Linked DNA regions of Homo sapiens: all the other regions are linked to region 1. The links are contacts of gene promoters, found by promoter capture Hi-C in human tissues and cell types (Jung and others, 2019). All regions are on one chromosome and are shown on one strand. The core of a region is centred on a gene start or on the middle of the fragment in contact, and the rest is flanking DNA. Distances in the headings are between cores, read along the strand shown. Region 1 holds the start of TMEM160 (transmembrane protein 160). Region 2 holds the start of PTGIR (prostaglandin I2 receptor). Region 3 holds the start of SLC1A5 (solute carrier family 1 member 5).

Evidence for each region. Contacts are between HindIII fragments. The study calls those that stand out against the background at their distance.
Region 2: the fragment with the promoter of PTGIR here is called in contact with the fragment with the promoter of TMEM160 in region 1 in 1 of the 25 tissues and cell types used here (small bowel).
Region 3: the fragment with the promoter of SLC1A5 here is called in contact with the fragment with the promoter of TMEM160 in region 1 in 1 of the 25 tissues and cell types used here (pancreas).

Annotation. Positions count from the first base shown.
Region 1 is chr19:47,046,876-47,050,121 of GRCh38, forward strand. TMEM160 (transmembrane protein 160) reads right to left here and starts at 1,749. Exons shown (of 3, transcript NM_017854.2): 1 at 1,532-1,749. The coding sequence starts at 1,739. RefSeq lists enhancers at 1,177-1,246, 1,756-2,050, 2,174-2,691, 2,692-3,209 and a silencer at 1,527-1,716. The HindIII fragment of the contact is 17,900 bases long and covers 1-3,246 here.
Region 2 is chr19:46,623,416-46,626,661 of GRCh38, forward strand. PTGIR (prostaglandin I2 receptor) reads right to left here and starts at 1,674. Exons shown (of 3, transcript NM_000960.4): 1 at 1,582-1,674; 2 at 43-822. The coding sequence starts at 810. RefSeq lists an enhancer at 1,889-2,389. The HindIII fragment of the contact is 28,599 bases long and covers 1-3,246 here.
Region 3 is chr19:46,787,078-46,790,323 of GRCh38, forward strand. SLC1A5 (solute carrier family 1 member 5) reads right to left here and starts at 1,517. Exons shown (of 8, transcript NM_005628.3): 1 at 323-1,517. The coding sequence starts at 888. RefSeq lists silencers at 595-644, 655-704, 1,675-1,834 and enhancers at 1,185-1,786, 1,435-1,729. The HindIII fragment of the contact is 6,368 bases long and covers 1-2,225 here.

The sequences.
Region 1 (3,246 bases), core at 499-2,998:
GGCCTCCACCTCAGTGCCCCTCTCCCCCAAACTCTGTAACACTAAGGATTCAAGGGCCGGGTGTGGTGGCTCACCCCTGTAATCCCAGCACTTTGGGAGGCCAAGGCAGGCGGATCATGAGGTCAGGAGTTTGAGACCAGCCTGGCCAACATAGTCAAACCCTGTCTCTACTAAAAATGTTAAAATTAGCAGGGTGTGGTAGCACGTGCTTGTAGTCCCAGCTACTCAGGAAGCTGAGGGAGGAGAATCACTTGAATCCAGGAGGTAGAGGTTGCAGCGAGCCAAGATCATGCCACTGCACTCCAGCCTGGGCGACAGAGTGAGACTCCGTCTCAAAAAAAATAAAGGATTCAAGATAGTCCCTGCAGAATGTGGAGGACAATCTAGGGGCAAAGTTGCAGAACCTCCATCTGAGGAGTCATCTTGGCCAAACCCCTCCCTCTACGTGTACCCCCACGGCCTGCCCACTCACTTCTTTCTCAGAACTCTGGGACAAACTGTTTCCTAATCCAGGCCGCTCTTCAGCCTCGCCCTTCTTTTCCTTCAAATGCCGCCATCTCCTACCGAGTATGGCCTGGGCCAATCCCATCCATGTCCTACCGAGTATGGCCTGGGCCAATCCCACCCACGTCCGTCCCCATTCACGTCCTTTACAAACAGCCCACCACACCCTATATCTAGATGCCCGGTCCTGGCCTAGTGAGGTGACTCACACCTATAATCCCAGCACTTTGGGAAGCCAAGGCAGGAGGATTCTCTGAGCCCAAGAGTTCAGACCAGCCTGGGCAACAAAGCAAGACCCCGTCTCTACATAAATTAAAATAGTTGGGTGCGGTGGTGTATGCCTGTAGCTCCAGCTAAGCAGGAGGCTGAGGCAAGAGGATAGCTTGAGCCCAGGAGTTCAAGGCTGCAGTGGGCTACGATTGCGCCACTGCGGTCCAGCCTCGGTGACAGAGCAAGACACCGTCATTAAAAAAATAAAATTAAAAAAAAAACAAACATGGCCAGTCCGCTCCATTCTGGACCTCGCCTCCGTCACAAGCCCCGCCCTCTGCAGCCTAGATCACCTCCCCCTCCAATCAGCAGAGAGCTTTCTCCCGATTGGTTGTCCCCTTCTCCAATCCTGAACTTCCCCCTCTTCTGCGGGGATCCACACTCCCGCTCTCTGCACAGTGGTGGCCTCTGCAATCGGGATGGACCCATCTTGTACCCAACTCCACAGACCCTAAGCTCTCCCTGAAGCCCCTCTCCCCACGGCAGGCGCGATTCTACGAGGCTGCCTCGCGCAACCCTACCACCCCCTCCAATCCCTACGGCGCCCCGTTACCCGGGGTCCTCGTCCTCCCCGCAAGCCCATCCCCTCTGCGGGCACCTGCGCTCTTGCAGTCTGCGCTTCCGTGCGCTCACACTGAAGCCCTTCTCGGAGCCGAGCCCGGGCCCCGTTTCCTGCAGAAGCCCCCGCCCCATCAAGGTCCCACGCGAGCCCGGGACCCCCGTCCCATCCGCACCGCCCCCACCCCTAGCCACCGACCTGTCTCGTGCGCTTTTCGGAGGAGCCAGGCGTCCGCACGATCCAGCTCGGACACTGGGGGCGGCGAAGCCCCGGCGCGGGGACCGTGGCCGGGGGCGAAGGACCCCCGGGCGCCCCCGCTCCGGGGCCGCTGAGGCGGCAGTAGCGACCTCCGGAAGCGAAGACGGGCAAGGCGAGCGGCCCGAGCCCACCACCAGCCGCCTCCCATGATTCGCACTACGGCCGCCGCGCGCCGTACCGCCCCACCGGCCTCCGGTAGGTTGCAACCCATGTCACTCAGGATGAATGGCTTACCCATTGGCTATGCGCTCGCCACTCAGGTCCGGCGTGAACTGTCCATTGGTCGGAATGGCAGTGATTCCCTCCTCTGTCATCTAGGCCGGTAGTGCCCGTCCCTCCTTGATTTTGTACCGGACTACGAATCCCAGCGATCATTGCGCTCGGGGAAAGCCGATATTCAGAAGTCGCAGGCGAGATGTCTGCTGGGAATTGTAGTTTTAATTCTATCTTTTTTAACGGAGTACATGCCGAGCACCTATTGTAGTTGTTTCTTGGTTGTTTCTCTTTCTTTCTTTCTCTTTCTTTCTTTCTTTCTTTTTCTTTCTTTCTCTTTCTTTCTTTCCTTCTTTCTTTCTTTCTCTCTTTCTTTTTCCCTCCCTCCCTCCCTTCCCTCCCCTCCTTCCTTCCTTCCCTCCTTCCTTTTTTTTCCCCGCCCCGAGACCGAGTCTTGCTCTGTCGCCCAGGCTGGAGTGCAGTGGTGCGATCTCGGCTCACTGCAACCTCCACCTCCCGGGTTCAAGCGATTCTCCTGCGTCAGCCTCCTGAGTAGCTGGGATTATAGGCATGCGCCACCACGCCCAGCTAATTTTTGTATCTTTAGTAGAGACAGGGTTTCACCATGTTGGCCAGGCTGGTCTCGAACTCCTGACCTCAAGTGATCCAACCGCCTCGGCCTCCAAAAGTGCTGGGATTACAGGCGTGAGCCACCGTGCCCGGCCAGGTCTGTCTCTTTAAGACAGATTTGTTTTCTTTGCCCTAACCCATTCCGGGATTCAGCTTTGCCTTCTCTCATCAGCATAAACCTTTTCACTAGCCAGGAATGTGAAAAATGTGTCTGGAATATTTTCAATTTGCACTTAATCCCATTTAAAGCTTCACATTCATTGCAAGCCTGCAGGCTATGCAGTGCAGTCCATTTGAACTCCCTCCTCAAGTGTAACCCCCTTGCTAGCTCCCCTACTTTTCCTCTTCATAAAATCCAAGCCCGGGCCAGGCACGGTGGCTCACATCTGTAATCCCACCACTTTGGGAGTCTGAGGCGGGCAGATCACGAGATCAGGAGTTCGAGACCAGCCTGACCAACATGGTGAAACCCCATCTCTACTAAAAATACAAAAATTAGGCATGGTGGCAGGCACCTGTAATCCCAGCTACTTGTGAGGCTGAGGCAGGAGAATCGTTTCATGCGCGTCCATGTGAAGAGACCACCAAACAGGCTTTGTGTGAGCAAGATGGCTGTTTATTTCACCTGGCTGCAGGCAGGCTGAGTCCGAAAAGAGAGTCAGCAAAGGGTGGTGGATTATCATTAGTTCTTAGAGGTTTTGGGATAGGCGGTGAAGTTAAGAGCAATGTTTTGCGGGCAGGGGTGGATCTCACACAGTACATTCTCAAGGGTGGGGAGAATTACAAAGAACCTTCTTAAGGGTGGGGGAGAT
Region 2 (3,246 bases), core at 424-2,923, 420 kb before region 1:
CTCCTCCTCTCCCCACTCCTCCCAGCTCCGGAGGGGACTCACCGTGAGAGGCAGGGAGCACACGGCCATGACCACTGTCATGAGGGCCAGCAGGATCAGGTGGTCCACCTCGTCCTCTCCGGTGCGCGGCCGTGGACCCAGAGAGCCCTGGTGGCGCTTCTGCTGGCGGTACATGCGGCAGAGGCTGAGGGTGACCGAGCCGTTGCAGAGGAAGATGGCAGCCACCAGCAGGGCCACCAGGCCGGCGTAGGCCAGCGAGAAGGCGGCGCCGCCCGGCTGGGCCCAGCGCATGCGGAGGAAGCACCAGCTGCCGGGGCAGTACTGCTGGTGTTGGCCCAGGCCCAGCAGGGGCAGCGCGCAGAAGAGGACGCAGAAGGCGTAGATGGCTGGCAGCGCCAGGCGGGCGCAGCGGGGCCCGTCCAGCTGCGCGTAGAGGTAGGGGTGGCTCAGCGCCAGGCAGCGCTCCACGGCCATGGCAAAGAGGATGAGCATGGACGCCAGGCCGAAGAAGGTCATGGCGAAGGCGAAGGCATCGCACAGGGCGGGGCCGCCTCGGGCCAGGCCCAGCAGGGAGCTGTTGCGCGCATAGGCCACGAACACGGCCGGGCTCAGGAAGCTGGTGCCCAGCAGGTCGGTGGCCGCCAGTCCGGTCACCAGCACCGCGAAGGCCGAGGGGCGCGCCGGTCGCCGTGCGCTCAGGATGCCCAGGGCCAGCCCGTTGCCCACCACACCGGCCACGAACATCAGGGTGCTGGTGGCCGGCCCCACCGAGCCCCGCACGTAGGTGAGGTTCCTGCACGAATCCGCCATCCCAGGTCTGGGCTGGAGGGTTCCCAAGGTGGGGGGTCAGAGGGAGCCAGGGCTACCCCCACCACCCAGCCCACTCAGATGTCCCTGCTGGCCAGTCCTTTTGGCAGCTGGGGCCTCCCAGCCAACCCCCAGTTCTCCTGTGTGTGCGGGTATGCAGTCCTCTCCCCTCTGGCTTCTCCAGTATCTCTCTCTGTCTCTCCCCACCTTCCTGTTTCTCTTTCTCTCTTTCTTTTCTTTCGTTTCTTTTGAGACAGAGTCTCACTCTGTTGTCCAGGATGGAGAGCAATGGCATGATCTCGGCTCACTGCAACCTCCACCTCCTGGGTTCAAGCGATTCTCCTGCCCCAGCCTCTGGAGTAGATGAGATTACAGGCGTCCACTACCACGCCCAGCTAATTTTTGTATTTTCAGTAGAGACGGGGTTCCACCATGTTGGTCAGGCTGGTCTCGAACTCCTGACCTCAGGTGATCCATCCACCTTGGCTTCCCAAAGTGCTGAGATTACAGGTGTGAGCCACCATGCCTGACACCCACCACCCCCCCACCACCTCCTGTTTCTTTCCTTCTCTAGCTCTGTTTCTGCCATTAAAGAGACAGAGAACATCCGGGCATTGCCAGTTCTTTCCCTCCCTGTCTCTCGGTCTCTTGCTGATATCTCCCTGTCTCTGTCCCCTCCCTTGTCCTTGTCCTCCCCGTACCTTTCTCCCTCTAACCCCACACCCTCTACCTGCTCCTGCTCTGTGTTGCTGCATCCCCAGCCCCTCACCGCACCTCTCCAGTCTTGCCCAGGCTCTCCTGTCCCGTGCGTCTGTGCCTTCACTTGCTTTGCTCCTCGTGTCTCTCGCTGCCTGTGTCGGTCTGTGTGTCAGCTTCTCCTTCCCTCCTCCCTCCGTCCCTCCCTCCTTCCCACCCTCCTCAGCTTGCCTGCTCACCCCAGCTTTTTCATTTCCTCTCTCTGCCCCGCCCTCCCTCACTGTTCTCCAGAGGGCCCCCTGGCACACTCCCCACTCCCCGTCCACCCGCCCAATCCAGGACATCCATCTCCCATCGCTGCCTCCACTCTCCTCCCCACATCCTCTCTTGGTTCCCATCACTGAGCCACCTGCCACCTCCCCACACACAGGTCTCCTCCCTCCCCCAGTGTCTCCCTCTCTGGCCTGGGTGGGGAATTCCTGAGTCACCATCACTTAGGCTTGGAGCCTCCCGGGGTAGTAGGGGGCCTCTAGGAGGGACCTGAAGAGCACAGTTGACCAGGCTTCAGTGGGGTGGTCTTGGCCTGGGCTGTCTCAGGGTGGCCTCTGGGATCTATTCTGGGCTCCAGGCCCCGGGGCTGAGGACATTGCCCAGGGATTGAGAAATGACCAGGAAATTCCTCTCTGATGTAGTGTTTTCCAGACACCACTGAGAGTTCTGGTCCCTGGACACAATTCACTCCTTCCAGAAAGCTGAGGAAGGAGGCTTGGCCAGAGAGAGACATGCCAGTCCCTCGAGCCTGTCCCTGGGCACCCAGCTCACCCTGCAGAGACCCGAGAAGAAAGCATGAAGGGGTGTATTTGGTGTCCAGTTGTCAGGGACAGGCTTGGGAGACTTCCATGGCCCATGATGGAAAGGTAGCACTGGGCCACCGTCCGACTTCTCGCACAGCACCCCTAGGCCCCAGGCCAAGCTCTGGTGACCTTGACCTTCAGGAATCATATTTTGATCACAGGAAGCTGTCCACAGCTCCAACATTGCTGCCATGTGTCCCCCACCCTCCCCAAACACAGCCAAGCCACCACCGCTGCAGCCTCGGGCCAGTGTGACAGACCCACATGTTCCCGCTACCCGCACAGCGTTCACGGGTCTCCCTTCCCACGGAGTCGGTGGCTTCCCAGGCAGCCTCCCAGCCCAAAAGGGCCAGATAAAACCTCAGAGACCCTCTCTGAGCCCCGCTGTTTCTCAGGGGGACGGTCTCAGATCCATTCGACTTGGCTTCCTGTTTCCATCTGACCACCTTTTTTCTTGCTGCGAGATGGTCCCAGGTGAGGAGAGGGAGCTGGTAGACTTCAGCCTCCTTCTCTGTGCGTGGGGTAACACGGGCCTCAGGGACCTGGTGGCCAGCCTCGGCCTGCAGCACATCCCAGATTGGTCTTTGTAACAAGGAGAGAGGCTGTGCGGGTGTCTCTTGTCCAAGGCCAGGAGGGATGTGTCCAACCCAAGGACTGGACTGTGGGCAGCTGCCGTCTTGCCCTCTGTACCCCGGTGTGTGACCACAACCCCTTTGCCCCTCCCCCCCATCTCCCTATCACCCTTGCCCAGCTGGCACCCGCAGCTTCCAGCAGGATGGACGCCCAAGTTCCAGCCCCACCGTGGCTCCCTAAGGGACCCCCCAGCCCTGCTCTGGGGGTGCCTGTACATGTGGGCTCCAGGTCCTGCCACGTTGTCCCGCCTCATGCC
Region 3 (3,246 bases), core at 267-2,766, 260 kb before region 1:
CCGCAAAAGTTCCTCCTGGGGTCCCCTCCCCTCAGTGTCTTTCTCCCCTAGGCAGACCCTCCTATGTCTCCCCAAATCACTTTCTTCTCCCTCTATAAGACCCCACTTATGTACCCAGGCCCCCAGATTTAGAAACCCCTTCCCCAGGAGACTAGACTCACACTCCCGAGGGCTGGAGCCTCCCCTCAATATCCTGTCGAGTTTTCCTAAGACTCTAGAGGGAAGTCTCTGCTCCAGGGGCCCCAAAGCCCCGTCCTGTCCACGTGACCACTCCCGCCATCCGTAACACTCTTCCCCACCTCCCGGGGGAGCGGGAGCTGACCTCGCAAGATCCAGGAACGAATCGAGCACCTCCTTGCTGGGGGCATTTTCGGCACTGCCCGCGGCTCCCACGGAGGCGTTGATGGCGGCGGAGGCGGCGCCCGGCTGCAGAGCCAGCGCCAAGCCCACTCCGAGCGCCGACGCCAGCAGCGTGGTGACCAGGAAAAAGAGCAGCGCCCAGGCGCCCAGACGGCCGAGCGCGCCGGGGTCCAGGCTGGCGGCGCCGCCGATCAAGCTGCACACCACCAGCGGCAAGATGATCATCCGCAGCAGACGCAGCAGCAGCTCGCCCGGGAAGACGAAGGCGCTCAAGCGCTCCGGGCCCAACGCCAGCGCACCCCCGGCCCCCGACACCCCCAGTCCCAGCGCCACGCCGGCCACCACGGCCACCACTGTCAGCAGCACAAGCAGGTTGGCTCGAAGGCAGCGGCGCACCTGGTCCCGGGAACCGCAGTAGCCGCCTGCTGCCGCGCCTTGGTCCTCGATGGAGGCCAGCGCCAGGCCCCCGTTGGCGGTGGGCTCCGCCGCTGCGAGCCCCTTGGAGTCTCGAGGAGGATCGGCCACCATGATGGGAAGCACCGGGGTTTCTTAGCGCCTGGAAGCTGGCTGGGAGCGCTTGGGCTCCTTCCCAGGACCCGACGTTCCTAGGACTGAGTTGAGTAACAGCACCTGGAGACTGGAACTTTGGAGGGCTCCTTAGAGTTGTGAGTTCACAGCACTGAAGTTCCTTGGCTCTTGGAAGCTGGAGTGTTTAAATTCCCCAGGCTGGGCGCTGAGGCTTCTCTGCTCTGCCCCGTGTGCCAGATGTCCGAAAGCTGGGAGTTCGGAGCGCCCGGGTTCCTTGGCCCTAGGAGCTGGGAATACGAGAGTTTCTCTGGGTGGGACGTGGGGCCCTTGGCTCCAGGAGGTTGAGTGCCCCCAGATGGCGGAGGTCTGCAGGAGGCTAGGTTCTGGTGGCGCAGATCCCGGACGCCTGGATCCGGGAGGCGGGGACCCGGGCTGCCTGGGTCTTGGACACTGAGGGCTGGGATGCCAGAATCTGGGGGCCGGGAAGCGGACCTCCGGAAACAGGGGACCCAGGCTCTTAGGTCCGGGAGGGTGGGATGCGGGCCCCTGTGTACGGAAGGCGGTGGTCTGGTGTCCGGGAGTAGCGGTTACCAGCCAGAGAAAGCCTCCCGGGCGTGCCGCGTGGCTCTGAGCCCGTTTAGCGGAAGCTGCCAGGGATAAGGGTAGGGGGCGGGGCTTGAGAAGGCGGGGACCGACCCTCGGGCGCCGATTGGCTGCAGAGCGTTCGGAGACTGGACGAGTAGGGGCGGGGCTGATACCCGAGATGGGCCAGGTCCCCCATAGAAGGCAGATTAATAATACCCATCTCCAGGAGCCGGGCCCAGAGACGACGGGGCGGGGCCAGGAAGGGGCGGGGCCTTGGGAGGGTGCTGTTTCCCGCCAAAGGAACTGGGTTGTGGGTTGGAGCCCTTAAACCACAGGGGTTCGTTCCCTGGTGCGAGGGTCGCTAGAAAGCTCCGGTGGTCCTCGGTGATTCATTTGCAACTCAACTCAGCTTTGGAACTCCTCAGCCCTGAGTTTGGTCTTTAGTCGCCTCTGAGAACTTTAATTCCTCGAATATAAAGTGCAGGTGTTAAAAGCTTTTGTCTCATATGATTGCTGTAAGATTTAAATAAAATTGATGTATTTATTTAGGGAGCCGTGGCTCAAGCCTGTAATCCCACCACTTTGGGAGGTGAAGCGGGCGGATCACTTGAGGTCAGGAGGTCGAGACCAGCCTGGCCAACATGGTGAAACCCGTCTCTACTAAAAATACAAAAATTACCTGGTGTGGTGGCACGTGCCTGTAATCCCAGCTACTGGAAGCCTGAGGCAGGAGAATCGCTTGAACCCCAGAGGCAGAGGAAGTCATTCACCTTGAGGCCACACCTAGAGAGGATGACACGTGCATGCCCACCTCCCAAGCCCCTAACCGCACCCACTCTGCTGCCTCCCCAAATTCTCTGTTAGTGGCCGTTTGGGAGGTTAACAATGAATTATGATTCCTTACTCCACCTGACAGTGTTGAAATCCTCATTCCTTTCCCATCTCTAGCCTGTTCTGTGACATTTCAGGCTTTCATGCTTGCTCAAAGATTGTAGTGGTAATGTCAGAAGCTTCCTCCTACAGCAGCTGTGAGGCCTCAGGTAATTTACAACCTCTATGAGGCTCAGTCTTCATATGTGTAAATGGGAATAATAATAAGTCATACCGCCTTGAGTGTTGCAAGGGTTCAAATGAGATAATACGGCCGGGCGCAGTGGCTCACGCCTGTTATCCCACCACTTTGGGAGTTGATGCGGGCAGATCACTTGAGGTCAGGAGTTCCAGACGAGCCTGGCCAACATGGCAAAACCCTGTCTCTGCTGAAAATGCAAAAATTAGCTGGGTGTGGTGGCACATGCCTGTAATCCCAGCTACTCAGGAGGCTGAGGCAGAAGAATTGCTTGAATCCAGGAGGCAGAGGTTGCGAAGAGCCGAGATCTCACCACTGCACTCCAGCCTGGGTGACAGAGTGAGACTCCACCTCAAAAAAAAAAAAGTTATTTATTTGTGCTTTAAAATTTTTTGTTCTTTCTCTCTTCTTTTGTTTCTAACAAAAATGCCCTTCAGAAGAAAGTCAAATACTACTGCTGCGATTGCTGTTATTGTTATTATTACTGAAGAACAAGCTGGATTCAGTGGCATGCACCTGTAGTCCCAGGTATTTGGGAGGCTAAAGCAGGAGGATCCCTTGAGGCCAGGAGTTCAAGGCTGCAGTGAGCTATGATCGTGCCCACATTTAGCCACTAGACTCCATCCGGGGCAACATAGTGAGACCTTATCTTTAAAAACATGAAAATAGGCCAGGCATGGTGGCTCATGTCTGTAATCTCAGCA